3 separate regions of the Homo sapiens genome follow, and regions 2 and 3 are each linked to region 1. Evidence: promoter capture Hi-C in 16 types of primary human blood cells and fetal thymus (Javierre and others, 2016). All regions are on one chromosome and are shown on one strand. Each heading gives the region's core, a stretch centred on a gene start or on the middle of the fragment in contact. The rest is flanking DNA. Distances are from core to core; before and after follow the strand shown. Region 1 holds the start of KANSL1L (KAT8 regulatory NSL complex subunit 1 like). Region 2 holds the start of SMARCAL1 (SNF2 related chromatin remodeling annealing helicase 1). Region 3 holds the start of ATIC (5-aminoimidazole-4-carboxamide ribonucleotide formyltransferase/IMP cyclohydrolase).

What was found. Contacts are between HindIII fragments. The CHiCAGO score rates a contact against its expected background, and 5 or more counts as called.
Region 2: the fragment with the promoter of SMARCAL1 here is called in contact with the fragment with the promoter of KANSL1L in region 1 in 1 of 17 cell types (neutrophils); the score reaches 5.2 in neutrophils.
Region 3: a contact is called between the fragment with the promoter of ATIC here and the fragment with the promoter of KANSL1L in region 1, in 1 of 17 cell types (activated CD4 T cells). The highest score is 8.8, in activated CD4 T cells.

What each region holds. Positions count from the first base shown.
Region 1 is chr2:210,168,619-210,173,474 of GRCh38, reverse strand. KANSL1L (KAT8 regulatory NSL complex subunit 1 like) reads left to right here and starts at 2,066. Exons shown (of 15, transcript NM_152519.4): 1 at 2,066-2,326. RefSeq lists enhancers at 1,137-1,770, 1,771-2,406, 2,800-2,979, 2,407-3,041 and silencers at 1,850-2,179, 2,300-2,609. The HindIII fragment of the contact is 7,802 bases long and covers 268-4,856 here.
Region 2 is chr2:216,410,232-216,415,087 of GRCh38, reverse strand. SMARCAL1 (SNF2 related chromatin remodeling annealing helicase 1) reads right to left here and starts at 2,604. Exons shown (of 18, transcript NM_014140.4): 1 at 2,440-2,604; 2 at 1,196-1,232; 3 at 1-441. The coding sequence starts at 383. SMARCAL1-AS1 (SMARCAL1 antisense RNA 1) reads left to right here and starts at 2,588. Exons shown (of 5, transcript XR_001739881.1): 1 at 2,588-2,663. RefSeq lists enhancers at 2,495-2,584, 2,715-2,804, 2,548-2,842. The HindIII fragment of the contact is 8,553 bases long and covers 520-4,856 here.
Region 3 is chr2:215,309,124-215,313,979 of GRCh38, reverse strand. It overlaps ATIC (5-aminoimidazole-4-carboxamide ribonucleotide formyltransferase/IMP cyclohydrolase), which reads right to left and starts at 1,921. Exons shown (of 16, transcript NM_004044.7): 1 at 1,819-1,921; 2 at 1,356-1,482. The coding sequence starts at 1,837. It overlaps LOC124907975 (a long non-coding RNA gene), which reads left to right and starts at 2,008. Exons shown (of 2, transcript XR_007088075.1): 1 at 2,008-3,301. RefSeq lists silencers at 1,577-1,946, 1,957-2,036 and an enhancer at 1,567-2,217. The HindIII fragment of the contact is 8,450 bases long and covers 1-4,856 here.

The DNA.
Region 1 (4,856 bases), core at 817-3,316:
GTCTTGGTGGCGGGCGCCTGTAGTCCCAGCTACTCGGGAGGCTGAGGCAGGAGAATGGCATGAACCCGGGAGGCGGAGCTTGCAGTGAGGCGAGATCGCACCACTGCACTCCAGCCTGGGAGACAGTGTGAGACTCCGTCTCAAAAAAAAAAAAAAAATTAATCTAGAGTATTGGAAACAGCCTACCTCCCACGGCTATGTGATGAACAAATTACATAATATATGTAGAAATGCTGTATGAATCACTATTTGTGTAGTTACAAAGCTTAATCCCTTTGTCATCCTCTATAAACTCCATGAGGACAGGGAATTTGTTTACTAATATATCTTCATTAGCCATCACAAAACATGTGTTCAATAAACATTTGGCAAATATATAAATATTTTGTTTGGTAGCAAAAAATTATTTCACAGGAGAAAACTACCATTAAATGATTTGATGTCTCTACAGTTCCTTCAGGTTAAAATCTGAATTCCTGTCATTCAAGATTTACTCAATCTAGTTGACAATGTACTTTTCTGCCCCCCAAATATTCACACAACATCTCCTCAAACCACCCAAGGACACTATCTCCTGAACTATTGATGCCTTCCTCCTCTCTCTTAAGTCTTTTAAACGTCCAACTCAAATCCAGAATCTTCCTTTGATCTATCTTAACACATGCTTATTAGATGTCTCAAACTGCTAATTAAAAAAACAAAACTTTAAAAAATACTTTATTCATTTTTGCATTTCTGTCCCCAGGGACTAGGACAGTCCTTTGAATATGGTAAATATCCAATAAATACTTACTGATTTAATTATTTTTCACAACACATCATTAGCTTACAATTTTTATTACAATGAAAGTAAATCAATTTCCTAAAATTCTTCCCTTGCCCCATATCGAGGTGCAATTATTCAGTAATTAAAAAAATATAGCTCCAATAAATGCAGCTGGTCATAAAAATTATTTCAGTAATATCACAATCTACTAGAAGAACCAGGAACGAGTAGCTAATTTTCCAATTCCAGTTATCTATGTTACGGATTACGCTTTGTTATGACTGCAATTCCTTGGATTTCTCCCCTCTTCCGCCCCCGGGATCTTATCCAATTGATAAGGTTAAAATAATGGCTATTATCCTTCTGGCTTAAAAAGCCTAGTGCTCTTCGTTCCTTAAATCATTTCATGTGTAAATTCGGTGCTTAGGAAAGACTGTGATACAACATCTAAGAAGCTACATTTAGAGTTCAGTTTTAAAAAAATCGAGTTCTTGGCTGGGGAAGTGCCCAGGTGCAGGTTTGTTTTGTGGTGAGCGGTTCGCGGGGCCAGGTGCAAGACGCTCAGAAGTGTTTTTGGGTGTCGCTGGCCAACTATCTCCACATAAACTCCGTTTGTTTATTTGACAGCGTTACTGCAGAGGGGAGTTAGGTCCAGCGCCACTCAAACCAGATTTGTAGAGACTTAAAACTGCTTTGTCTGTTTTTTTTTTTTTAATCATAAAACCACCCAGTTGGATCCAAGGCAAATTTGTCACCTACTTCAGGGCCCCTCTGAGGGTCAGAAAGAATTATGAGCGCATTTGAACGCACGGCCCAAATAAAAGCAAACGCACGGAGACTTGCGGACTTGACAATTGTGAGAAATCTCTTAAAACTCGCCTGTGGAGCGGCGGGCGAAAGCCGCGGACGCCAGCAGTAGTCGAGGCCCCGGCGCGGACGGCAGGGAATGAAGTCGCCTGACTTTTCCTCAGGGTTTTGTTTTTCTGTCACGGAGGTACAAAAATAGCAAAGCAGGGGTGGGAAGTCTCCTGGCCGTGTTTTTTTTTTTCCCCCTCGCCAGGGATGGCACTGGGAAAGAGAAGGGAGGAAGCAGGAGCTGCACGGAACCCGTCCCGAGGGAGCCGAGGTAAACCCTGCACCAGAGTTAAGGGAGTCGTGCTCCTGCCACTTCCAGAACACTCCGAGCCGCTTCTGCAGGCCCCGCCCCCTGCCGGGGTTTCCCCGCCACCCGCTTCATTTGCATGGCGCTGCCCCTCCCCCGTTGCCATTGGCTAGCGCCGGGCCCCGCCCACTGCTCCCAGACCGCGGCAGGGTTCCGTCCCCCCGAGCCGCACGGAGCTGCGGGCAGCGGGCGGACTGTTAAACCGCGGCGGCGGCGGCGGCGGCGGCGGCGGCGGCGGCGGCGGCGGCGGCCGGGGCGGGAGCGGGGCGCGCTCTGGAGACGAGTCAGCGGCGCCCCGGGTGGGGGAGGCGGGCGGGCAGCTAGAGATCACCTCAGCAGCCCCCACCACGGCCGGACCGAAGGTGCGGCGGCGGAGGGGAGCCAGGGCGCCCCAGCAGGCGAGTGGCCGGCGTCTCAGCGGCGGGATGACGGGGGTGGGTCTTCCCTCTTGGGGACGGCGGCAGCGCGGGGAGGGGAGAAGACTGCCGGGTGGACTTGCGGGTCAGGCGACCGACCGGCAGCCCCTTCGCCCCCCGAATCCTCTGGGCTGCTGGACTCTGGTCTCGGCACGGGATCGCGCTCTAGGGCGGGGGTCTGACCGCAGCCAAATTTAAACGGCTAAACCTAACAGCCTTGGCAGCTGGGGAGGGAAGGGGTCTAGGGAGGGGTGGGGGCGGACCTGGACGCCGGTCACGTGGGGGGTGGGGCTTGGCAGACCTCCCTTTTGTTTTGGCTGGCGCGTGCGCAGAAGGCAGAACACGTGGTTTCCTGGACCCGCCTCTTGCCTCATCGGCTGAGCCTCACCCATTGGGGGTGTGGTGACGGCTCTTTTGAGGCGGCTCTGAGGCGGAGCCCACTGGATTTGATGAGACCCCTATTTTATTTATTTCACACTTTCTTTCAGGAAAACGTAGATTTGGGCTTTAGAGTTAGATGGGATAGAGCAGAATCTAGGGGATTTTTGAGGGACGGTGCTTCCAAGTTTGTGTCACCGGTGTGCTGAGGAAGGGACCGGTCTTGCTGGAAAAAGTCAGATTGCGTGGTGTTTGGTAGCAAGAAATACCAGGCGGTATCCTGGCCGTTTCAGAAACCACAGGAAAGGAAAGAGGCTGGCTTTGCAGTCGGGAGGGCAGGCACTGGATGGACGTTCTTGTAATGTTTTCTTACTCTGGGAGAGTCCGTTTTTGTTTGTTTTTTTGTTTGAACTGTGGTAAGCACATTCCGTTTTTGATTCCCCAAACTTCAGGACATTCATGTTCTGGCGAGGTTTAGGAGACAAACTTCCTTCGTCTTTAGCCAGTTTGCTTAACTTCATCTGAGTTTGGGTCAGTAATAATTTTAAATATTGCTGGATGGGGCAGGTTTGTTAGCCACAAAACCTAAGTGAAGTGAGCACTGCAGACAAAACTGGCAATTTCTGACTAGGAAAAAATGACTCTAAAAATAATTCAGTATTGAGAAAGAGGCTTAACAGTGAGTGGTCTCTGCCTTTCCCGTTCTTAATAACTAGCCATTTCTTTGGGTTAGTCACCTCTCTGATGTCAAACTTGTTTCGTTTTTGTAAAGTTTCATAATATGGTCTCTGTCTTAAGAGATTGTAAGAAAGAAGAAATGCCTTGTATTAGGAAAAGTGATTCCTAATCTCTACCAATTGCCAAGTAGTGTTATTTTTATAACAAAAGTGAATTTTTTAAAAGCCCACATGTTGGGGAAATATAAACAATGAATTAATCATGAAATAGAATATATTTGAGTATCTTTAAAATCTGTTGTAACCATTATCTTTGGTTCTCCCTCAGTTTCCACCTACTTAGATCAGTGTCAGCGTCTGCAACCATTTCCTCATGGTTTTAATCTACATAGATTATTCTCTCCCGCAAACTGTCTGGAGTAATTTTTTATGTGAAACTTCTTAATCCAGGCCAATTCTCTCACATTGACTTTTAACATTTACATTTTAATTTTGTTTCATGATGCGCCTTTGCAAATAACAATCGATTATTTTGTTAAATCTTATTATTATAAAGTAATTGGAAAATAGATGAGTGCAAATAAGAAAACTATAAATATTTTGTACTTTAAATATTTCTGTCTGCATATATGTGTATTTTTCCTAAAACTGAGACCACATGGTATTTTCATTTAACTCAGACATTCGCATATCATTATTCTTTGAAAAATATTTTTAATAGCTGCTTAACATTTCGCCATGTAACTATCATATTTTAAATTTTTTCTGTTGGCACGTATGTGGGATGTTTCTGGTTTTGCTAGTGTATATTTCACTACAGACAATATCCTTTTACATAAACCTTTGAAATTTCCCCCCCTTAGATTTGTAGAAGAGGAATTACTGGGCCAAAGAGTCTGTTTTTGTTGTTTGTTTGTGTGTGTGTTTTTTAAGGCTCTTATGTCATCACCAAATTACAGAATGTTGTATTGATTTACAGTGATCTAGTGGTATGTGTGTGCCTCCCATTATGTCTTTGTTTATCACCTAGTATTAGGCTTTAAAACTAAAAACCTTGCTTTAATTTGCATTTTAAATTTTTTCACTCTAATCTGTGATGTATCTTTTATTTTTTAACTTATTGTAAAGTGCTTGAGAGAAAGAAATATATTTCATGTTTGACATGCTGCAGATCACTTAGTGGGTGCTCAATAAATACTTGCCAGTGGGCTAATATTTATCTTTTTTATCTATGGAAGATCAGGAAATTGTCTTTTGCTTTTTGTTTTACTCAGTTTACTAGTACATTGTTAGTAATATACTATTATTGTTGGATTCATAACTTTTACTACTTTTTCATTCAGGTGAGGCCTCAGTGATCTGATCACAGTTGTCTACCAGAAGGTCAATTAACTTCTCATAGCCCAACTGCTGCATTATCCAAGAACTTCATCCAATTTTGATGCCATTTATCATGA
Region 2 (4,856 bases), core at 1,355-3,854, 6.2 Mb before region 1:
TGTGCCAAGGGAGGAGAGATTCCAGTGAGAGCCATTTGACTACGTGGACTGTGGCCTGGGCAGGCTGTGGGCATTTCTTCTGGCTTTTTCCATATTCCCTTTGCCTGAAAACTGTGGGAATCATGAGGTCTTTGGTCAGCATTAGATGAGCTACTGAGATTCTGTTGCTTGAAAATGACACCATGGCTCACTGGCTTACAAGACTCCCTTGGGAAATTTTGGGATGGGCCTTGCTTGGCCTGGAATGGGTTGCCAGCAATGGAGGTGCCCGAGCTAGTCCTCTGATGCTGTTCTGCCAATAACTTCTCAGCTCTGCGGGCCAGAGCCTTTTGTCGATTCTCTTCAATCTTTTTCCTCTGCTCCTCTGTAAGAGGCAAGGACATTTTCACAGAGAAATGCTTATGCAGGAATGTCAACCTTTAATTGGAAAGTTGGCAAAAGCTGTGGAAGAAAGTAAGAAGAATGAAATGAACATTACATGTATTAATTGTCATACTCCAACCATGATTTTAACAAGCTTTTGTCCCAGAAAATGCATAATGAGCACAACTAAAGGATGTATTAAAGTTTCTTTTATAATTGCACACACACTGAAATAGTAGGCAGCATATGCTGAAATAAAGACCCTGATCAAAAAGCAAAAAGCAGGTCGGGTGTAATCCCAGCACTTTGGGAAGCTGAGGCAGGTGGATCACTTGAGGTCAGGAGTTTGAGACCAGCCTGGCCAACATGGTGAAACCCCATCTCTACTAAAAATACAAAATTAGCCAGGCGTGGTGGTGCACGCCTGTAATCCCAGCTACTTGGGAGGCTGAGGCAGGAGAATTGCTTGAACCTGGGAGGCAGAGGTTGCAGTAAGCCAAGATCGTGCCACCGCACTCCAGCCTGGGCAACAAGAACAAAACTCTCAAAGAAAAAAAAAAAAGCAAAAAGCAAATCCAAAGCTAAAAAGGCATTTCAGAGGCAATATTTCTCTCCTTCTCACATGGTAACTCACATGGTAACTCAATGGTTCGAAGCACTGCCAAAATGGTGAGTAACTCTTCTGATAACTCACATGGCCCAGCCAAGGTGAGTTATCAGAACCTAAGAAAGTTATGCATTGCAACGTAAATCCATCAGATAATGAGAAAGGTGACATTTTTAACCAGAAAGCATAATAGATTAGACTGAAATAGACCAACCAACCACATACCATGGCGTGACACTTGCTAACATAGTCTTTTTCCAACCTAGAAGAAGGAAAAAAGCATTAGCCTCCCATAGCCTGCACACTGAATTCTCCCCTCACATTCACCCCTTTTTATCATTCCTGGCAAATCAGTCTGCCTGTGGCTCAGTGCAAGCCAGAGCAGCTGGCCTTAGGACCTGACTTCCAACACAACACACGGAGCAACTGACTGACTCTCCTGGGAAAATAAGGAGCAGAAAAAAAAAAATTATGTGTTCACTGTGCAAATTAAGATGCTACATAAAGATGTAAACAAAAAAGAATAAAATTACTCTGTAATCTTACCAGCCATCAATAACCACAGTTGAAATTAATAATTTAGAGTATATAGTTCGGATTTTTTTTCATCCATAACAAAATGGCACATATTTAGGAGATATAAGAATTTATTATAAAGTAGGATCATTGTAAACATTCCATATTGCACCCTGATTATTTTTTTCCATGAATTTACCCGGAACATTTATTTTCCTATGAGCTGAGACATGTTTACAATATTTTAGAAGCAGCGGGCAGGACACACCAATTTGTCTGGCTTGGTTCAGACTAAATAGGCTGCATCTAATGTAATGCTGTGTAACGGTTACAATGATGATGTAGGGGTACTCCAGTAGCATTGCTTAGGCCTCTGGGCAGCTATAGGGTTCAAAGCCTTCCTTCCCTGCTGGGGCTCCCTTTGGCCAGAACCCAACCCCCCTCCCCCCTCCCCCACCACGAAGTATCTATCCCCAGAGAACTTCCACCTTCTCCAACCATTAGCAGTTAGGAAGGGGTGAAGAGGTTAGGAAAAGGTTTTGGAGGTGCACAGCAGAAGCCCTCAGTCTCTCTGGGTAACACACTCCTGCCTAAGTTTCCAACCAGGGATCTCCTGCACCTCCAAACTCCCCAGATCCCAGGCCTGGTAAGCTGTCTCCACTAACCAGAGAGACTCGGCCATAAGACCCACTGATCAGCCCCAAACCATAAATCCATTCCGCCACATGGACGCCCCTCTTCCCCTCTAGGCAGGGACCTCTGCCCCCCGCCCCCCACGCCCCGCATTTCGGGGCGAGCCTCACCCAGCCTCAAGGTAAGCGGGCGCCACGCCCCACTCCCACCCCTACGATCTCCACTTGGATTCACCCTTCCCATTGGCCCACTTCCTCCTCCAGGCTGGCATTGGTCTCGTCCGCCTCCGCCGCCTTCCTGCCAGTCTACCACTTTCTCACCCAGGGAGGCCTAGAACGCGAGCCACATTCGCCCCCGGCCCTGACCCCAGGCGCGACTGCAGAGCCTCCCGAGCGGGACCGGTCTTCCGAGTGGACGGTTAGGCCACGGGTATTCAAGCGCTGCGAGTTCGCCAGCCTTATTGTAGCGGCCAGGCCTGAAGGGCTAGGCCACCGCTGAACTACATTTCCCAGCAGGCAACGCGGCCGCAGTTTCGCTTCCAAAAGTAAGAATGATGAGACGAGAACGCGAGCGGGGCTGCAGTGTCTTCTGGGATTTGTAGTTCGGGCCGGGAGCCTGGCGAGAAACGGGAGCTGCAACGTCATGGGCGGGGCGAAAGTGGTGCACCCTGGAAGTTGTAGTTCTCCAGAGGTTTAGCCAAACACTAGGTCCTGAAAGCCTAGGACGTTGAGGTTTCCAAACCCGGAGTCGGCTGTCTCCAGAGGACATCCCAGACAGCCATACTAACTTGGCAGCTCTTAATAAAAAGTATCTCCCCGGGGCATCCATTCCTGGTATTGCTATACTTGCCATTTAAGCCCCACCCGCTGCGCCCGGCTGCCATCATCGTCATCATTGTAGTCATCAGTCATTGTGTTTAGCATAAATATGAGTTACCTCATTTAACCGCACTACAACCTATGGAACACATTCTTGTCCCCCTTTTACAGAGGGGGAAACTAAGACAGCTATTTGATAATATTTCTCAAGGCTTTATTAAGCTAGCTTGTGATTCTGATTCCATAGCCCCTCCTCTTGAGAGAAGATTAGTCATGAGACTTAAAGAGTCACTTTACCCCATCCTGAGCACCAACATCCTGAGCCATCCTGAGCACCATTGGTGATAAATATAACATTTCTCTATCAGTGTGCATATGAATGTTGCTATTGTTCTATTTTCAAACATGGCTCATTTAAAAACAAACAAGTCTACTAAAGGATTTGAAAAAATGGACCAGACATGCTAAGAAAAAGGAAGCACAGCAATGTGTGTAGTTTGATTTTTTTTTTTTTCATCCTTACCTGTACATGTATGTAAACTCATAAAGGTCTGGGAAGGAAACTTAAAAAGTCACCAAACTGTTCAGGAGCAGAGTGGCATGAAATACACTTTTCAGCTTTTTAATCTCTATTTTTCAGAATGATTTGAATTTTCTAAAATAATAATGTAGAATTTGTGTGACTTTTGAAACAATAAATAATCTCCCTTCTTCCTTCCTTCCTTTTTTTTTTTTTTTTTTTTTTTTTTTTTTTTTTTGAGACAGAGTCTCACTCTGTTGCCTAGACTGAGTGTGGTGGTGTAATCTTGGCTCACTTCAGCCTCTGACTCCTGGGTTCAAATGATTCTCCTGCCTCAGCCTCCCAAATAGCTGGGATTATGGGTGCATGCCGCCATGCCTGGCTGATTTTAGTAATTTTAGTAGAGACAGAGTTTTACCATGTTGGCCAGGCTGGTCTCAAACTCCTGACCTCAAGTGATCCACCTGCCTCAGCCTCCCAAAGTGCTGGGATTACAGGTGTGAGCCACTGCGCCCAGCCCATTTGTCTTAAATGACAAAGACATTGCCTGTCTTAGGGGATCTGTGTGAGGTTTAGTAGTAGAAAGTATTCAAATCTCAGCTCTACCCCTTTTATTGACCTGACATACCCAGTGATTGTGCCTCCATTTTCTCATCTGTAAAGTAAATGTAGAAAACAATACCACCTTGGTAAATCTTGTTATTAGAATCAAAGCAAGGTATTATGAGGGGAAGTGCTTAGTGAACTGTGAAATCCCAGAACAGGTAAGAGAGGGATGTTGTTATTATTTGAGGTAAATCTCTTATATCGTCCGTTTCTCTATACCTAGCGCTCATTTCCTACTGTATAGTGTGAACAGAAACTAGTTAATGAACACCTGTCCCTGCCCTTCCTGTCTCCCAACAGTCAGTTAATTTACTAAGAAAGCTGGGTGCCGTGCACTTGACTCATGTCTGTCACCGATTCATATGACCATCACTTCGCTTTCCTGGGCCTCAGTCGTCTCACCTGTAAAATGATACCCTGCTTTGACATATGCTAAGAGGGCCTGTGGACCAGTGGATCCTCATGTTAGATACTAGAATTCTTATAGATTCACAGATCTTACCCCAGAAATTCCAATTCAGTAAGTCTGGAATTGAGTTAGAAGATGTGATTACCTTTCTAGCTCTAACATTCTAAAATTCTAAGAATAGGAAATTAAAATATGCCTTTGAGGCCGGGTGTGGTGGCTCATGTCTATAATCCCAGCACTTTGGGAGGCCAAAGCAGGCAGATCACCTGAGGTCAGGAGTTCGAGACTAGCCTAGCCAATATGGTGAAACCTCATCTCTACAAAACCCCATCTAATACAAAAAGTAGCTGGGCGTGGTGGTGCATGCCTGTAATTCCAGCTACT
Region 3 (4,856 bases), core at 672-3,171, 5.1 Mb before region 1:
TGAGGATTTTGCTTTACGAAGGTTCCATTACCATAGGAGGACCCAACTTGGCCCAATGGAAAGCACGCAGGTCTGGACTTTGAATTCTCATTCGGTTGCTGATGAGCAAAGAGCCAACTTGCCTGCCACGATTCTCACAGGTTTCCCATGAAAACCACAGAGACAAGACGCAAAAAGACATCCGAAAATATACAGTTATGTATTTGTTAATAAAGTAAGGCATTCTTACCATCTGAACTTGTTAAACTTAGGGAAGCTGTGTACTGCTCACATAGCTGGGAACTGCACAAAGAAAAGGTAATAACCTACCTCTACATGGATCTAGAAACCAAGAAGCAAATTTTCCACATGGCAACAAAAAGCAGACAGATATCCTTCATCTCTTTCATTCTAAAATATGTTTCAGGGGTGGTCATCTCGTTCCTCCCAACTCTCACTGCCGTTTATTAAATAGCTATCCTATAGTTTTTTTCATTTTTCTACCTTTCAGTAGACTTCCTCCCTCTCCTCCCAGAATGCCACTCCTTGACATCAGCAATGGCATCCTGGTTAATCATTTCTAAGTCCCTTCTTTCCATGGCCTAGTCAGCTAATGAAGGGCTTGTGAACGTGGGAATGAATGATTTGCACCTTCATATGGTTACCAGAGATTCTAAGGGAAGGCAGGTAAATTGGAATCTTCATGATGTCGAGTTTTATTAAATCACCAGTCAAAGTAACTGAAGTTTTCCTTGCATAACAAGTGGCCCACCTAAGTTAATCTGTTTAAGGAAGGGGCTAAGACTAGTGTCCTAAAATCAGGAACAGCACGGGTTCCAATCCTACTTTTCCCTTACTCAACTGTTTAAACTTGTGCAGAAGATGCTAAATCTGTCCAGTGTGTTGTCCAGGGTCTTTCTCTGTCACCCAGGATGGAGTGCAGTAGTGCCATCTCGGCTCACCACAACCTCCGCCTCCTAGGTTCAAGCGATTCTCCTGCCTCAGCCTTCCCAGTAGCTGGGATTACAGGCGTGTGCCACCATACCGGCTAATTTTTGTATTTTTAGTAGAGACGGGTTTCACCATGTTGGCCAGGCTGGTCTCGAACTCTTGACCGTAAGTGATCAGCCCACCTCGGCCTCCCAAAGTGCTGGGATTACATGCGTGAGCCACCTAGCCCAGCCGTCCAGGGTCTTAAAAGTTGCTAAATCTCTCTGAGCCTCACTTTTTTTCCCCATAAAGTGGGGAAGTATTACACCAACCTCACAGCGCTACTGGGAGGAGTAAATAAGGCGTTTTGCTGCTGGTGCCTGGAATACAATACTTCCTGGTTAATGTGATCACACTCCTTTCTGATGGAACTAGCTATGCCTTACCTGACTGCCAGACCAGCATCCCTGAGAGCTTTTGCAGTCCCTCCGGAAGCGACCAGATTCAAACCAAGAGCGGTCAGGTTTCTTGCAAATTCCACAAGGCCGGTTTTGTCAGAGACACTAAATAAGGCTGAAAGAGAAGACATTTTTTCTCATGATTCGCAGCACATTGCACTGTGTTCTGCAAGGCCTTGGGAGGGTCTGGGGGAGGAGATTCTCGAATCGCAAGGCCAGCACCTGGACCCTGCGTTCGCAGGCCTGGTCCGGGCCTCCCCAGGTCTTACACCCGCGAGCTGCTCTAAGGCGGGCCCCACGCAGGCTGCGGCCCGGCCGGGGAGCGGGGACGCTGGCTTTCAATCCCGCAGCGCCGCCCCTGCAGTGCCGGGTCCCGCCGGCCGCCGCCAAGGCGGGAGCGTGGGGGGCCGCAGGCGAGGACGCAGACCGCGCCGCTCCGCTAGGGCCTCACCGAGCTGGCCGGGAGCCATGGCTGCAGGCACTGGGTTCAGGGCGAGCGGGAGGCAGCAGCGGCGGCACCACGTGCGCAGGTAGGAGGGCTGCCGGGATGTGGCGGCTCAGGAAGCGAGGGGGCGGAGCTGTTTCCGGGCTTATCACGTGGCCCGCCGGCCCTGCCCGGCGCCCTGCTCTGCTCAGTTTCAGATGCAAGATCCGCGCCCCGGGGCTGAAGGGAACGGCGGGATGGGGTGGGGCTCTGCCTGGCGCGCCTGGGCGGAGTGCTTGGGCTGGAAGGGATCCTGCCTGCGATCCCGAAGTCCAGGCGTGGGAGCCAGCGATCTGCCCACGACCCCAAAGTGAGGCCACTCCACGGCCTCTGGGGCAAATGCCTGTTATTCTAGGCAGCCGGTCCCCAGAAGCTGGAAAGTACGTAAAAGTGCCAGAAGCTCCCATGCTGAAAACTAAACAAAAGGAATAGTTCATATAGCGGCAAAGCTGGAAAGTATCTGGACAGTTATCTACCATCCTCCCTTTTTGTTTGTTGTTTTTTTGTTTTTCTGGGTTTTTTTGTTTTTTTTGTTTTTTTTTTTTTTTTTTGAGATGGAGTTTCGCTTTTGTTGCCCAGGCTGGAGTGCAATGGCGCGATCTCGGCTATGTCACGTGCAACCTGCAACCTCCACATCCCGGGTTCAAGAGTTTATCCTGCCTCAGCCTCCCGAGTAGCTGGAATTATAGGCAGGCGCCACGATGCCCGGCTAATTTTTGTATTTTTAGTAGACATGGGGTTTCGCCATGTTGGCCAAGCTGGTCTCAAACTCCTGACCTCAGGTGATCCGCCTGCCTCGGCTTCCCAAAGTGCTGGGATTACAGGGGTGAGCCACCATGCCCAACTTGTTTTTTGTTTGTTTGCTTGCTTGCTTGTTTGCTTGTTTGTTTTGAGACAGGGTCTCGCTCTGTCTCCCAGACTGGAGAGCAGTGGCACCATCTCAGCTCACTGCAACCTCTGCCTCCCAGGTTCAAGAAATTCTCCTGCCTCTGCCTCCACACCCGTCTAATTTTTTGTTGTTGTTGTACTTTTTTTTTTTTTTTTTTGTATATTTAGTAGAGATGGGGTTTCACGGTGTTGGCCAGGCCGGTCTTCAACTCCTGACCTCAAATGATCTGTCCACCTCAGCCTCCCAAAGTGCTGGGATTACAGGTGTGAGCCACCGTGCCCGGCCCCATCCTCCTTTTTAATAGGCTTAAAAAATAAAACCAAGGACCAATGATTTAAGTGAGGGACTCCAGAGGCCACAGATGACAGTCAAAACGAAGTGAAATTGACATTCGTTGTTGATTTTCACGTCATAAAATTATAATTTAAATATTAATTTATAATACTATTTTATACAATTTAGTCAGTATTGTAAAAGTGCCTAAAAACTACTTAAAGATGGTGTCTTCTTGCAAACCTGTAAATATTCCTGGATGAGAGGAATGATGACAGTCAAAAGAAGGTAAGAGAAGACCTTTCTTAATTCATTAAAAACAGGGAAAGCAAAATTGAACACATTTGTTTCTTTCTAAAAATGACACCTTTGCCACAAAATAAATACATATTGTGGTCTATGAGTCTTTTTTGTGTTATTAGAATTATATTCCAAAGTAATAGCATTGTTTATCTTTTAGTCTGAGCTCACAGCTGTAAAAATGAGTCTATTTTCTCATTATCTGCATGCTATTTATTTTTGTTTTTCCTCTTCCTTTCTCTAATTCTTCCCATCTCTTTACTCCCCAAAATAAATACCTATTGACTAGAATCAATTTTTTTTTTTTTTTTTGAGACAGAGTCTCGCTCTGTCACCCACACTCTCGCTCTGTCACCCACACTGGAGTGCAGTAGCGCGATCTCGGCTCACTGCAACCTCTGCCTCCCAGGTTCAAGCGATTCTCCTGCCTCAGCCTCCCGAGTATCTGGCACTACAGGCGCGTGCCACCATGCCTGGCTAATTTTTGTATTTTTAGTAGAGATGGGGTTTCGCCATGTTGGCCACGCTGGTCTCGAACTCCTGACCTCAGGTGATCCACCTGCCTTGGCCTCCCAAAGGGCTGGGATTGCAGGCGTGAGCCACCGCGTCCAGCCTGGAATCAATTTTTTGACCTCTAAATATGTTAGCCCTTTGCTCTGAACACTTCTCACATTCCTACGAGGAATATATTAAGATTATCGCATGTCTTCAGTGTGTTTGCCAAATTTGAATTTAAAAAGGATATTTCCTTGGCCAGTCACCATCAGGTTTTTACAGGAAATCGAAAGCAAGGAAAGGAGAAAACAATGCTGACATTTATTGATAAGGGGAAATAAACAGTTGCTTCGGCATTATGCATTTGTCTGTCATGTGAATTACAAATATTTATTCGATTCAATACATTTTTATTGAGCCTTTTCTGCTTGGATGGCAGAAACTCAGTGTCAGAAGACAGATAAATATCACCTAAGCACTGTCCTCAAGGAGCTCATGATGGAATGAAAATGTAGACACATGAAGTATAACTAAAAAATATTAATAGAGGCCGGGTGCGGTGGCTCACACTTGTAATCCCAGCACTTTGGGAGGTGGAGGCGGGCGGATCACGAGGTCAGGAGATCATGACCATCCTGGCTAACACAGTGAAACCCTGTCTGTACTAAAAATACAAAAAATTAGCCGGGCGTGGTGGTGGGCGCCTGTGGTCCCAGCTACTCGGGAGGCTGAGGCAGGAGAATGGTGTGAACCCGGGAGGCGGAGCTTGCGGTGACCGAGATTGCGCCACTGCACTCCAACCTGGGCGACAGAGCGAGACTCTGTGTCTCAAAAAATTAAATAAATAGGCTGGGCGCGGTGGCTCACGCCTGTAATCCCAGCACTTTGGGAGGCCAAGGCGGGCAGATCACGAGGTCAAGAGATCGAGACCATCCTGGTTAACACAATGAAACCCCATCTCTACTAAAAATACAAAAAATTAGCCAGGTGAGGTGGCGGGCGCCTGTAGTCCCAGCTATTTGGGAGGCTGAGGCAGGAGAATGGCATG